4 separate regions of the Homo sapiens genome follow, and all the other regions are linked to region 1. The links are contacts of gene promoters, found by promoter capture Hi-C in blood cells and fetal thymus (Javierre and others, 2016). All regions are on one chromosome and are shown on one strand. The core of a region is centred on a gene start or on the middle of the fragment in contact, and the rest is flanking DNA. Distances in the headings are between cores, read along the strand shown.

What was found. Contacts are between HindIII fragments. The CHiCAGO score rates a contact against its expected background, and 5 or more counts as called.
Region 2: a contact is called between the fragment with the promoter of FNTB here and the fragment with the promoter of PALS1 in region 1, in 1 of 17 cell types (M2 macrophages). The highest score is 5.2, in M2 macrophages.
Region 3: a fragment that was not itself captured here is called in contact with the fragment with the promoter of PALS1 in region 1 in 1 of 17 cell types (monocytes); the score reaches 8.1 in monocytes.
Region 4: a fragment that was not itself captured here is called in contact with the fragment with the promoter of PALS1 in region 1 in 4 of 17 cell types (naive CD8 T cells, fetal thymus, non-activated CD4 T cells and 1 more); the score reaches 6.4 in naive CD8 T cells.

Annotation. Positions count from the first base shown.
Region 1 is chr14:67,240,138-67,243,401 of GRCh38, reverse strand. It overlaps PALS1 (protein associated with LIN7 1, MAGUK p55 family member), which reads right to left and starts at 1,967. Exons shown (of 15, transcript NM_022474.4): 1 at 1,869-1,967. It overlaps LOC124903330 (a long non-coding RNA gene), which reads left to right and starts at 1,993. Exons shown (of 2, transcript XR_007064217.1): 1 at 1,993-3,264. It also overlaps a transcript of GPHN not described here. RefSeq lists a silencer at 1,386-2,355 and an enhancer at 2,336-2,615. The HindIII fragment of the contact is 3,073 bases long and covers 800-3,264 here.
Region 2 is chr14:64,985,645-64,988,930 of GRCh38, reverse strand. FNTB (farnesyltransferase, CAAX box, subunit beta) reads right to left here and starts at 2,036. Exons shown (of 12, transcript NM_002028.4): 1 at 1,834-2,036. The coding sequence starts at 1,977. All of the region lies in intron 3 of CHURC1-FNTB (CHURC1-FNTB readthrough), which reads right to left. LOC107984655 (a long non-coding RNA gene) reads left to right here and starts at 1,818. Exons shown (of 2, transcript XR_001750792.2): 1 at 1,818-2,251; 2 at 2,332-3,286. The HindIII fragment of the contact is 3,816 bases long and covers 1-3,286 here.
Region 3 is chr14:69,767,644-69,771,007 of GRCh38, reverse strand. SRSF5 (serine and arginine rich splicing factor 5) reads right to left here. Exons shown (of 8, transcript NM_001320214.2): 2 at 2,726-2,870; 3 at 2,334-2,404; 4 at 2,112-2,210; 5 at 1,757-1,826; 6 at 468-541; 7 at 1-13. The coding sequence starts at 2,851. LOC100289511 (a long non-coding RNA gene) reads left to right here and starts at 3,295. Exons shown (of 1, transcript NR_029378.1): 1 at 3,295-3,364. RefSeq lists enhancers at 1-493, 2,940-2,989, 2,986-3,364. The HindIII fragment of the contact is 6,506 bases long and covers 1-3,364 here.
Region 4 is chr14:65,095,243-65,098,329 of GRCh38, reverse strand. All of the region lies in intron 2 of MAX (MYC associated factor X), which reads left to right. Among named protein-coding and RNA genes, the nearest start is that of MAX, 5.7 kb to the left of the region's middle. The HindIII fragment of the contact is 1,288 bases long and covers 706-1,993 here.

The sequences.
Region 1 (3,264 bases), core at 718-3,217:
AGCCTGGCCAACATGGTGAAACCCCGTCTCTACTAAAAATACAAAAATTAGCCAGGTGTGGTGGCGAGCACCTGTAGTCCCAGCTAGTCGGGAGGCTGAGAGCAGGAGAATCACTTGAACCAGGGAGGTGGAGACTGCAGTGAGCCAAGATCGCGCCACTACACTCCAGCCTGGGCAAGAGCGAGACTATGTCTCACAAAAAAAAAAAGAAAAGACAATTATATTCTATATAAGCACATATGTCAAGATACTATTTTTTTCTAGACACTCTGAAATCAGAAAATATCAGAGAAATAGGGCATTTCAGTAAATAATATATAAAATTGATCAAATTTCTTGGAATGGGTGATAAATTTTATTTTTTCCATGACACAGCCCTCAGGAGATCCTGAAAACACGTGCCCCTGTGATGAGATTTTTAATCAAAATCATAATTCAAGATCATGTAAAAGCTAAACCCACTGTACTGACTTGGGTCACCCTCAAGTAGAACTTATATATTCTCTCCCGTTTTAACATTCTAAAACAAATTAATGTTAATCAATCCACCTTAATTTGTCAAGTTCAAGTCCGTCTTGCCAAAACTAATTCAGGTACATGGTAAAATTTACCAGATTTTTAAAGATAAAATAATGAATTGCTTTTCCTATTTTTGCCTGTTTTATCTATAAATCTCTTACATTATAATTTAATAGCTCATCCTGCCGCAAATAGAAAGCCTATAAAACCTATCCACAATAGCTATGTCCACAGGGATCTAGTAAAAAAAAAAAATCGTAGTTCTTAATTCAAGGAAGCTTATTTAATAAGTTTCATTACCACCAATACTTCAAAGACACCAATAACCAACACGTCATTTGTTCCTATTGCATAATTTAACAGGTTATTAACTTCTGGTATAATCCAAAAGCATAATTAGTAAACTATCATTAAAACATGATATTGCTTTTTTAAAAAATCAGAAATATTAACACCTTTCACTGCGTCAGTCAAATCAAAATTTCAAAATTTTTGTTCAACTGACTTTCCAAATCTAAATTCTTACTATTCTAAACGAGTATGGAGACAAAACACACACTCCATACTACATCTAAAAACTTCCTAGCCATCAGATTTTAATTTTAGCATAAACTGCCAAGAAAAACCTTTTGACCGAAACCTACATTCCGTACACATTACTGTATGTCAATCAACAGAAGGTGAGTTATGATCATTAGAAAGTTACATAATTTACTACAAAGATCGTTTAAAGCAAACTTCATTAAACGTAGGTTATAACAATTTACATGCTTCAAAGTTCAACGTGCAACCTTAAAGTATCAGAAACCATGAACAAAACTAGGCTTTTCTTTTAAAGTGGTCACAAGGAAGCAGGAACTGTTTGCGTGTTTAAGAACGCAATGAGCAGCAGAATACCAGCAGCTGAGTCAGGCAGAGGAACGCTGACTACATTCTGACTTCTAAAGGAAAGCGTTCCCTCGCCGATTTCCCAGACCCGGCCGGGAGAGTCCCGCGCGTCGCGACCTCGGAGAGAGGGCGCAGGGGGCAGACGACTCCCCGCCGCGCCCCCTGCACCTCGGGCTCGGCTGGCTGTGGCCCGCGCCAAGGTGCATGCCCAGCCAAGCAGAAGGAGCGGGCACCGCGCAGGCAGCGTTGCTCCGAGGGACAAAGGTTGGGCTCACACCCTCCACGGCCGCAGCTCGCGCGCCTGAGGAAGCCCGCCTGGCTGCCAGGGGTCTCCCGCTGGCCGGAGTTTGCGCAGCGTGTGGGGGAAGGGGAGCCCGGCCGCCCGCCCCTCCCCCGCCGCGCTCCCAGGGACCTGTTGATTAAGATCTCTACAGCCCAGCCGCCGCCGATCCGCCTCTTACCTCCACGCCTCGGCTCCGCGGAGCCTCCCGCCCCGGCCGCTCCTACGCACTGCAGAAGCGACAGCCCTCCGGCGGCCCTTGAAATTCCGGATAAAGAATCCAGAAACTCCCGACTCCCCACCTCAGAATCCTTAGTCCCCGCCCCCGCCCCACCGCCTGCCTCCTCCGTCGCCGCCGTCACCGCCGCAGCCGCCAGCAACTCCACTTCTAGACCGCGCGAGACCGGCCCCTGCGGCCGCCGCGAGACCGCGCACGCGCCCCCGGGACTCTGGCGCAGTGGGCGCGCGGATCCGAGTCCCACCCCGCCCGTGAGAGGCTGGCGCGGCTTGCCCAATCCCGAGCCGGAGCGGAGAGAGCGCCCGCTCATTGGTCCTCTCCGCAGCTCCAGCCGGGTGCGCGCAGTCGCGCGCCTCTAAGTCTAAAACGCGGACTGCTCCGGGCTAGCTGGCCCGGTAGAGCCCCTTCGGGATTTGGCCGGCGGGCTTTGTGGGGACGCGAGGCTTCCCTGGGTTTCTACATCCCTTGGCTCTTGTCTCTGGATGACGTATCCTGAAGAAAATCTGATTCCTCTTGAAGAGATTCCTCATGTCCTGTCAAGTTAGTCACCCAATCTAACATTTGTTTTTTTTAAAAAATGACATAAACACCTGGATGTGTGCAGTGTCCCGCAGAAGACTGCATAAAGCCAGCAGCTGCACTGATTTCTGAAAACCAGAAAGCAAGGATAGCAAGGACTAGAACTATTTCCCAGAAGTCTCCCGAAGGGACAGAGTTACGCAGATCAGCCCGTGCTCCGGGCATGGCTGGCGCCCTCGGGACCTGGATGTGCCACCCTTGGAATGGGGCAGGACTCAGGCGGGTGCGGGCGGAAGTCAGAGCAGATTGGAGGACGTTCTAAGGAGAAACACCAGCAATGTGTCTCGACACTTGCAATAAAAGCCCTCGGATGGTCTCTGTCTTGACAGTACCTTCCGAGCAAGCCCATTCCACATTTGAACACTTGCAAGGTTTGTTAATCGACCTCTCCTTCTATGAGGCCAAACTATGCCTGTGACTCCAGCCCGGGGGCACAGTTTCCCCCAGGGGCACAGTCCTCCCTCAAAGCCTTCGTATATGCCATTTCCATTTCTCTCGGTTTTCCTCATTTTGTCCCACGGTGTTTTTCCATCTCGCAATGTCCTCAGGTCCTGATTTTCAAGCTCTTTCACATTCTTCCCCATTACGCTCCTCTGGACAGCCTATGGGTTGTGGTGTCCCTCACTAAGGACACTGTGATGGCCTGAACGAAGCAAACCGTTGTTCCTGGTGGTGAAGATCTTTGGGGATGCCTACCCTTCCCAGATTTGTTATCCTTCTCAAATCTGATCAGCATTCTGTCCAAGTGTTTAATAAGACA
Region 2 (3,286 bases), core at 787-3,286, 2.3 Mb after region 1:
AGACTCAATAAATGGTCACTAACATGATTATTAAAACAGTGAGGAAGGCCACAAAAATGAGATACAACATTATCATCCTACTACCTGAAACTGTTCATCCTAGACTCTAATAATGTGTGCTGGAATAACAACATGAAAAAGAAATATAAGATTCTTTACTGTCTGCCATACCGTTGGGTCTAGATTTGAAAGATACTCGCACCAGGAGCAGTGGCTCACGACTGTAATCCCAGCACTCTAGGAGGCCGAGGAGGGCAGATCACTGGAGGTCAGGAGTTCAAAACCAGCCTGGCCACATGGTGAAACCTGTCTCTACTAAAATACAAAAATTAGCCAGGCGTGGTGGTGGGCGCCTGTAGTCTCAGCTACTCTGGAGGCTGAGGCAGGCGAATGGCGTGAACCCGGGAGGCGGAGGGTGCAGTAAGCCAGTGCATCCCAGCCTGGCAACAGGGCGAGACCCCATCTCAAAAAAAAAAAAAAAAAAAAAGGCAATCCCATAGTCTAAGGTCAGATAATAAGTAAAACACTTGACCTGAATCAACTCAGCAATCCATCATTTAGGAATTCTGCAAAGATCCTGTAGGTTTTTCATCAATGGGAAATTTCTTTACAATCTTTTGCAGTCAGCCTTCCCTGGGACACACTGGTAGGCAAACCAACCTGGAGAATTAGCTAGATTCGAGAGGTGAGGATTTCCTTTGCTACCCTAAATTCCATGAAGTTTAAATCTCCAGTTAAAATATTTTCTCTGCTACTTTGTGAATAACCACGTATCAAGCCCTTGTTTCTGTTATAAATTTATAATTCTATTTAGTCATAACTGTACAATAAAACAATTATTGTTACTAATTTTGCCAAAGTACAGGCTTCCAACTTAAAGTAGGAAATACAAAACAGGTCTCTCCAAGGTAAAGCCTGGAGACTGATCTCACTAAGAGATCTTATTTCAGTAAGCAGCAGAATGTTCATTTATTAGTGTTAAGAATTATCCTAACCACTTCTCCTAGGGACAGATGGATAAACAGTTCCACATAGCAACCTTGGGAACAATTCCAATTAGGGAATAAGAAGAAAAACAAAACTATGGTTTTGGGCATATGAATATATACTCATTCGCCAAACACTTTTCAAAATGATAGGTTCGATCCTACTTCTAGGCCTTAGGGAATGATTAGTAGTCCAAAATCCATTCTTTCTATTAGATCACTTTCCAAACTGTTTTCCTGCCTGTCCCCCAACCAGGCTCCTGGTCAGGAGCTGTTTTATTTCCTTGTACTTCCATCGTTTAATATTGTGTCCGACACGTAGCTGGTGCTCAAATGGCTGAATGACTACCAAAATGCCCACCCACGAGGCGGGCCCCCAAACCTGGCACTGTAGGTCAAAAATTAAACAGATCGTGAAACGGCATGACAGCAGCCTGGCCCTGCTCTCTGCCTCCAGAAGCTGAGGGCAGGTTGGGAAAAGTGCACTATGCACCCCAGAACCTCCCGAAGTACTGGCAGAACAGAGTGGGCTGTCCGACCCGCACGGGCTGCCTCTGTCCTCCAGGCATAGAACACGATTCTTCTCGTTCTTTAGGGCAGAGGGGACTCGGCTACTGCCCTCTCCTCCAAGCCCAACCTTGAAACGACCCTTCCCCAAGCTGGCCGCGCAAACGCTCCACGACGAAGCCCAAGCCTGGGCGCCCGGAGCTTCCCAGAGGAAAGGCACCGCGGTGCGCTGTGGGAGTCGTAGTTCCCCGGTGAGTTCCGCACCCGGGCGGCCCTACGAACGGGACTCGCGCTCCCAGAACACATCGCGCGGGCGCCTCGCCCAGTCCTGCCACCTCACCTGTTCTATGGACGTGACTGTTTCCACCGAGTCGTCCTGCAACCGCTCTCGCGCGTGCTCGGGCCTCAGACTGTACAGCGGCTCTGACCAGACGGGGGAGGAAGATGGAGGGCAATAGTAGGTGAAAGAACTCGGAGAAGCCATGATCAGGAGAGCAGCAGACAGTGTGTAGGACTCTGCTTCGTTAAGCAACAACGCGCATTGAAACTCGAGCGGGCTAAAGCGCTACGGCGAGCGGATAGAGGCAAAAAGATTTTGAACGCGAATGTCTCCTCCCGCCTACCCGTCTTTCGAGTGAGTTACTGAGATGCTGCCGCCCCCCATTGGGCAGAGGAGCTGCTGCAAGAGCGTAGAGTCCTGAAGCGCAAGGGTGTCTACATCCGAATTTCATTTCAGCGAGATGGCGTAGGACGCCTCGGTTTGTTACGCAAATTGTTAAAGAACTGTAACATTCTGCTAATTCTCACTTAATTGTAATGCAATTGTTTGCAATTTCAGGTGCCCAAGAACCCAATGAATGTTAAGTTTGAAAGCATTTCTGACAGCTCTACTGATTTGCCTCAGTCAGGCAATTACTAAAAGAATTATTGTGCACCTTGGGGTACTTGACAGCCTCCCAGGAGAAGGCAGCAGCTGCTCAAACGTGCAAGGACGCCGTCTCAGTATCACTCAGTGATGGAGGGAGGGGGGTATTATGATTTTCTCCTGTCTCTTGGAGGTTACACTGCAGTAGCGAGAACTGAAATGCAGTACAAGGAACAAGGATAAGTGAAATAGACAGTCAGTCCGCAGATATTTATGGAACACCTGCTATGTGTCAGGCATTGTGCTAGGTTCTAGGAATACAAAAGTGAACAAAACGAAGTCCCTTCCCTTGGAAACCTTACATTCTAAGAAAATCGACAGAATTGAATGTATCCAACGCAATAAATATATGAAGACTTGTGATAAATGAGATGAAGGAAAATAACAGGGTCTATGAGAGAGACTAAAGGGGTAAGAAACTAATTGAATTGTATGGTCAGGCCAAGCCTCTCTAAATGACCTTTCATTTGAGATCCGAAGGATGACGAGGAGTCATCCAGAAGAACAGTATGGGAAAGAACTCCTGAAAAAGGAAGAAACAGCAGCTTTTAGAAGACATGTGCTGGGCACGGTGGCTCACGCCTGTAACCCCAGCACTTTGGGAGGCTGAGGCAGGAGGATCACTTGAGGAGTTAGAACATCCTGGGCAACATAGCAAGACCTCATCTCTATTAAATATCAAAAAAATTAGCCGGGCGTGGTGGCGCATGCCTGTAGTCCCAGCTGCTCGACAGGCTAAGGTGGGAGGATCTCTTGAGCCCAAGAAGTCGAGGCTGCAGTGAGCTATGATTGTGCCACTGCACTCCAGCCTGGGTGGCAGAGCGAGACCCTGTTTCAAAAAAAAAAAAAAAGCAAAACAAAAAAACAA
Region 3 (3,364 bases), core at 742-3,241, 2.5 Mb before region 1:
AAACTCAACCACCCTAAAATGGAAAACAGCCACTTTTAAAGTATATACATCCTGTAGTCTCACACATTGCACACAGCAGTCTAGGTAAGTCGTTTCTATGTTCACTTTTGCTATTGCTACTATTGAGTCTTATTTCTGGATAACACAGCATTAAAAGAGCAAAGTTTTGGCACTGTTATACTTTGAGCCAATTCATTGTTGAGGGGGTTCCCTATGCACCGTGGGATGCTTAGCAGGATGCCTAGCCCCTACTGACTACATGCCAACAGCATCCTCTCTCAACCAGTTGTGACAACCAAACTTGTCTCCAGACACTGCCAAAGGTGTGGGGGGGAGGAGGGAAGCAGCAAAATTGTCTCTGGAGAATCTCTGCATTCTAACATATTCAAATTTTAAGTCCTCAAAACTAAGTTCACAGTAAAATTTTCCGGATATTTTTAAAGACTTTCACAGTTTCCAGTACATACCCTTCATTTAATTTAGGTCGGTGTGCATCCGCAAACGTTACTTCCCCAGCTTGTCTCATGAAATCTTTGAGATCCTTAACACAAGATAATTGTGTTAAGCAAAGAAGAGGAAAGGGGACACACAAACAATCACATGATATAAAAAAAACAAGACTACTGAAAGAGAAGATGTTAGATAAAGTACAAACATGGCATTTACCACACTTGTATTCTATCAGAATTCAAAAATTATCTATGTCAGGGCACGGAATAAGCAAATAGCATATTGCTTTTAAGCAAAATGCTAAAAGAAATTCAGATTTTAACATTAAGGTAGTATTAGTCTATGCTGAGCTCAGTACAAAAGAAAAAAAAACAAACAAAAAAACAACAAAAAAGGAAACAGTACATATTTTTAAAGTAAAGACTAAAGTAGAGAAGTTTTATTTAAAAAAACAGAACATTTACAAGACACCAGTTATTTTGTGCCCCATATGTCATTAAAAAAGTTTACTTTACCTTTATTATTATTTCCCTAGGCTAGTCAAGCAGCAAACCATTAATCGGTCGGAGAAACCTTCATGACATATGCCCGACTGGCTCTTCGCCACCCACTTGAAGGACACTACCCAATCGATGGAAGCCTTTAATCGCACAGCCCTCCCTATTAGCGGACTATTGGCGGATGCAGACATGTTCTACTCGAGCAGTTACCAAGGACCACTTTACTGCGATCAGGATTCCAACGACCACCTAATTTCGTATCTTTCAACTCTTTTCGACCGGACCTCTTATTCGGAAGCGTTACAGGAAGACAGGTCTCAACTTAGGGATCAGATCACGTTATCAACGCTCTGGGATCGCTGCAACCTGGCACTTCAAGGAAGTGCACCGATAACGTCTAGACCGGCAAACACAGATCTAGAGGTGGCCAACTGATCACTGTAGGAGCTGACTGGCAAAGTCAACCAGGCCCAACCAAGAGTGACCAAGACAACGATTAGGATAACCCACAGGCACTCCTCGTCATAAGGCCAACGACACAGACAGGCTGGCAAATAAAGGGTTTAATATTTGGTTAAAAATTGATTTTAAAAAACAAGAAAAATATCCTCAAAACATTTACATTTGATCACTAATATTAAAGTTCAAAATATCCCCCAAATTACATTTAATTAAATGTTTAAAATTACAATTCCATTAAATCCATTAATTTAAAACTACTTTTAATAAAACAATACAACATTAGCTACCCATTAACTTTTTTAAAAAGCCACATCAAAATAACTCAAAACTGTATTTCAACAAACCTGCCAGCTGACTCTTGAGGATAAATTCTCAACTATAAGACGATTTTCTGTTCTTACAGGTGGAGCATTTCTGAGGAAGAAAATTCGTATTCACAATGGAAGAAATGCAATGACAGCACTTGTGTTCAACTGTGGGCAAGTTCAAGCCATCAGATATCACAAGCCATTCTAATGACTTCCGTCAATAGATTTGTGTTCTATGACTCATATAGATTCATCAAGAACAACTGGCTAACGTGGGAATAGAAGAACAGATTATACGGCAGGACCCAAAATCATCACTGCTAATGACTCCTGAATCTTAAATGCTACCCCTACAATAATTGTTCAATGCAGCCATCCACCCTTCACATACCGTCTATCATTTCGAGGTCTGCGACTACTAAAACGGTCAGAGTATCGTCCTCTACCTCTTCCACCTCGTGACCGAGCCCTAGCATGTTCAATAGTAACCCTACAAAAAGGGAAGAAAAATCTCCGTTACACACTTAAGCTACATAAATCTACTTAGAAAAATATGCCAGCAGACCCAGTCTGCTCTATGTCCCAGGGTTATCTAGTTACACAGGAATCTCACCTTTCACTACAGAGTTCTTTTCCATCAAGCTCATACACAGCATCATCTGCATCCCTTGGATCCTCAAATTCCTAAAATGTAAGCATAAGACTCTTAACATTGGCTTTAGAAGAGTATTCTACAACACATTAAGAGCACTGAAATCAGGAGACAGAATGGGAAGAGTATCTTAACGACACTGCCATACAGTCAAACCTAATCAAGGAGCCACTGGGAGTGGGGTTCCAGTGAGCCGGCAAGTTAAAGTTGTTTTCAGCCTCAATAAAATTCAGACATAAGGCTGGGTAACATTTTCTGAAGGCAAATATTCCACCCGGACTCAAGATCGAAAACAACTGCTTATCAAAACTCTACCTACTTAGCAGATAATTCACCCAGTTCTAAATACTTACCACAAAACCAAAGCCTCTTTTCAGATCAATATCTCTTATCCGTCCATATCCCTTGAAGAATCTTTCCACGTCCTTCTCCCTGGCCGCTGGATTTAGTCTCCCGATGAATACCCGACAGCCACTCATGATGTCCGGCTAGTACTTCCTATTAGAAAGTAATTCAATCGAGATAATAGCAATGACTGTCACAGAGAAACGCCTGATTAAACAATCAAAAACATCAACGGCATAAAATGTTTACACAGTGATGTTATGAACGAGATTGCCAACAGAGCCTCTAATGAGGCCAGGTTACCTGCAGACAAAATGAAAACCCAGCTCCCTCCCAACACGGTCCGCTACTGGGCCCAGACCGCAGCAACCGCAACGCCCACTGCCACCTTTCCAACTGCGCAGCCGCACACTCTCCGGGCTCTCCGGCCCCCTCCCATCTGCCGCAGTTAGGAAAGGCCGAGAAGTGCGGGCGGAGCCGCCCGCGCCCTCCGCAAAGCCAGCCCAATGGCGGCCTCGCGGGCGCGTCACAGCGGGTGGAAGCCAGAATCTCGCGACGCCTCGACCGCGCCTGCGCCAACAGCAGCGGGCGGGCGCTCTGCGGCCACAAAATGGCGGCGGTGGAATCAAAGGCAGCAGAGCTGCGCG
Region 4 (3,087 bases), core at 100-2,599, 2.1 Mb after region 1:
TGGTAGCCTCCGAGATTGGAATTCACTCAGGAAACTACTGTCTGTTTTACCTGCAGTCAGTTGCATGGCAAAAGTGCTGCACAATGCATGTACTTTTTCTCTGCTTAGAGTGTTGACAGTGATGCTTACAGTGATAACAAATGCCAGAGTTAGTTCCTAAATGTGCCTGTGTTAGGGTAAAAGTTGTTCTTATGTCTAAAAGAATTTTTCCAAGATGCCAGTAACGGTGAAATAGTTGGTCAAAGAATTCAGCTTGGTTTTTAATTAAAATTTCCTGACCAAGGCATCCTTCTCTGAAATGGCTATAGTATGAGGCCCTGTTTGGATTATAGCATTTGCCAGTTATTTTAGGCACCAAAAGAAAAAAGTTTGAAAACAAATACATACATTAGATAATGTTGGAAATGTATACCAGGCAATCAGCTACAAGCAGGACAGGTATTGGAAAATTGAAATCCATGTCTTTCTCTTAGGGAGCTTGGTGAGTTTATCCCATCCTACCTGCCTATTATTTTATGTTATAATTTTTGGGTTGATTAAAATGAATATTTTAAGTTGCTTAGAAATTGAGCTTTATCCTATCTTGTTCTTATCTATCAGAAGTAAGAAATAGATCTTTTCGGATGAGATTTTTGGGTCTGTGTATTCTCGTGTCCTTAGTCTCTAATAAGAATAGCTTGATAAGAATCATAAGCAACACAAGCTTCCCTCTAAAATACAACCTTCACATTTTGTAAAGGTAGTAAATATTGAGTGGGCAACTAATTCCCTATATGCTGAGAATTTTCTGTATTAGAATTGAGATGGTTCCCCTTATAGGTGGGGTTAGCTGTCAGGTAGCCTGTAAGACATGGCATTGTTCTGGAGAACCTTGTGCATCCTGGAATAATGAAGCATTTATTTCCCCGTGCTATTTGCCTAGAACTTGGAGGAAATAAGATTACTGACTGATGTGATGCCTTGAACAAAGATGCAGTCTCTCTGCAGTAAGTTGGAAGGAAATAATTTTAAGAGATTTCCCTCAATTTTGAACAGACCTCCTTAGCCTAGATGACTTCTTGCCAACATAGCAACTTCTTGGCTAACAAAATAATGTTTGTCTTCAACATCTAACAACACTTAAGATACACGTGCTTGGTAGTGTCAAAGATGGACAAATTGTAGGTGAAGATTTTTATTCTGTCTACCAGTGTGGAAAGTTGGGTAGAAATATAACTGAGAGGCTGAATAAAAACTTTGGCAGAGATGTCAAAGCTGGAAGTGATTTGGTGCGGGAGTTTCTGTTGAGCATCTGTGGACCACTGCATAGCCCCTTAGTATTTCTGTTAGGGATGCCCTGGAGGAAGGGTTTTCTGGCAGACATCCAGACGTACAAATCCAGCGTACTAGAAGAGTGGGCAGCATCCAGCCACTGTAACCATAGGATGTGTAGGGGAGATGTTTGGGAGCCTGCTGTACAGTCCAAGAATACCTCTGTGGTCTCCTAGAATAGGGCCTAATTAATTCCACAAGGGGGTTTTCCGTACCATTTGTTTTCATTACTGAACATCATTCTCAGTACAGGCTCATCTGAGTAGAGTTTTATTTGTTCAAGACAATTGTTTGGGCTTGTTTTTTAAAACCAGTTTTGCATTTGGGGGAGGATATTAGATGCCTTACACTGGGAGTCTTCACCCAGTTTTTCTTCTTCAACTCTGAAATCTTGGCCCTCTCAAAAAGGGTTGCCAGCAAGCAAAGACAGTTAACAAGGCAGTGATAAAGCCTGCAAACTAGTCCTCCAATGGGGGTGGGGATGAGGCGCGGGCAGTGTTATTGGTCTGGGTGGATCTGTGGTTTGGAAATGTTTCCCACAGAGAATTCTCAGCCTTGTGTAAAGGTTTTTCTGTTTTTCATGTGCTCTTTCAAAACATTAGTGATAACATTTAATTCACAGTTGCCTGGAATTAGGCTTGTTAGTTCTGCATGTTTTTAACTTGTTCTTTCAAATCAAGCTTGGGGAAGAGAAAAATACATCCTTGCCATTGTCTCTGAGAGATTTAAAATTGACTCCACTAGTAGCTCAGGGATGGACATGGCAGCAGGGATTGGTGTAAGATTCCACTCTTCTGCTAGTTAAATTGGGCCTGGAACCACTACAGAAATTCCATCCACTACTTTGAGAACAACAGTCCCCAGCCCAGGCTTTCTACCAGGCAGTGGACTGCTGCCTTTCCTTGTTGAGCCAACTTCTCAAACTTGGCTGGCTCCCCAGATGAGAAGCCAAGATTTCTGCTCATGATCTACAGCCAAGTTCACTTACAATCCTCCAACCGAGAGACTTGTCCATTTGAGTCCTTTCAGAGCTCAGTGAATGGGAGGGGGTAGTGCATTGTGGGGATGATTTTGGTGTTAGATTATACTTAGCTCCACCCCTTTAGTGCAGGTCCACGTGAAACCAAGTGCAACTTCATTCTAGCTGTTTGAGATTTGCAGGGCTCTCCCAGAAAGAAAACAGACAATTAGAATTTTATTTGTATCAACAAGAGGGATTGTGGGTAATTCTGGTGCACAGCTCTTAGCTGGGAGGAGGGCCAAGAATCAGGGTGATTTAGTAGACAGGAGTATCTTGGGCTGCTCTGGAGACCAAAGATGGGCAATTAATTTGCATGTAAATAAACCACCTTAGGTAGTATATAGCAAACAGGAGCCGCAGACACATGCCAAATATTGTCTCTTGGCCTTTAAGCTCCTTAGGTATAGTCGCAGCCCAACTTATCTTTATGTAGATGATCAGAGGGAACAACAGTAAGTTCAAAAGGACTAGATACTTAAATAGGTTCAATTCTGTCGCACTATTTCATGCTACTGTTAGAAGGCATCTATAATTTTGCGCTAAAGTTGTATGATACAGAGTACCTACCTCTACCCTCAGGTTATGTGGTGTTCCAAACTTGACTGTCCTCTCAGCTTCATATTTCATGTCACTATAGTTCAGTAAACATTCATTTTACAGTGAATCCAGACTTAACAAGATTAGGACAACTTTAGAAGTGCTCCAGGCATCTGCCCCAAAAAGAGAGATATGCTATGGAGAACCATGGTTGTCAT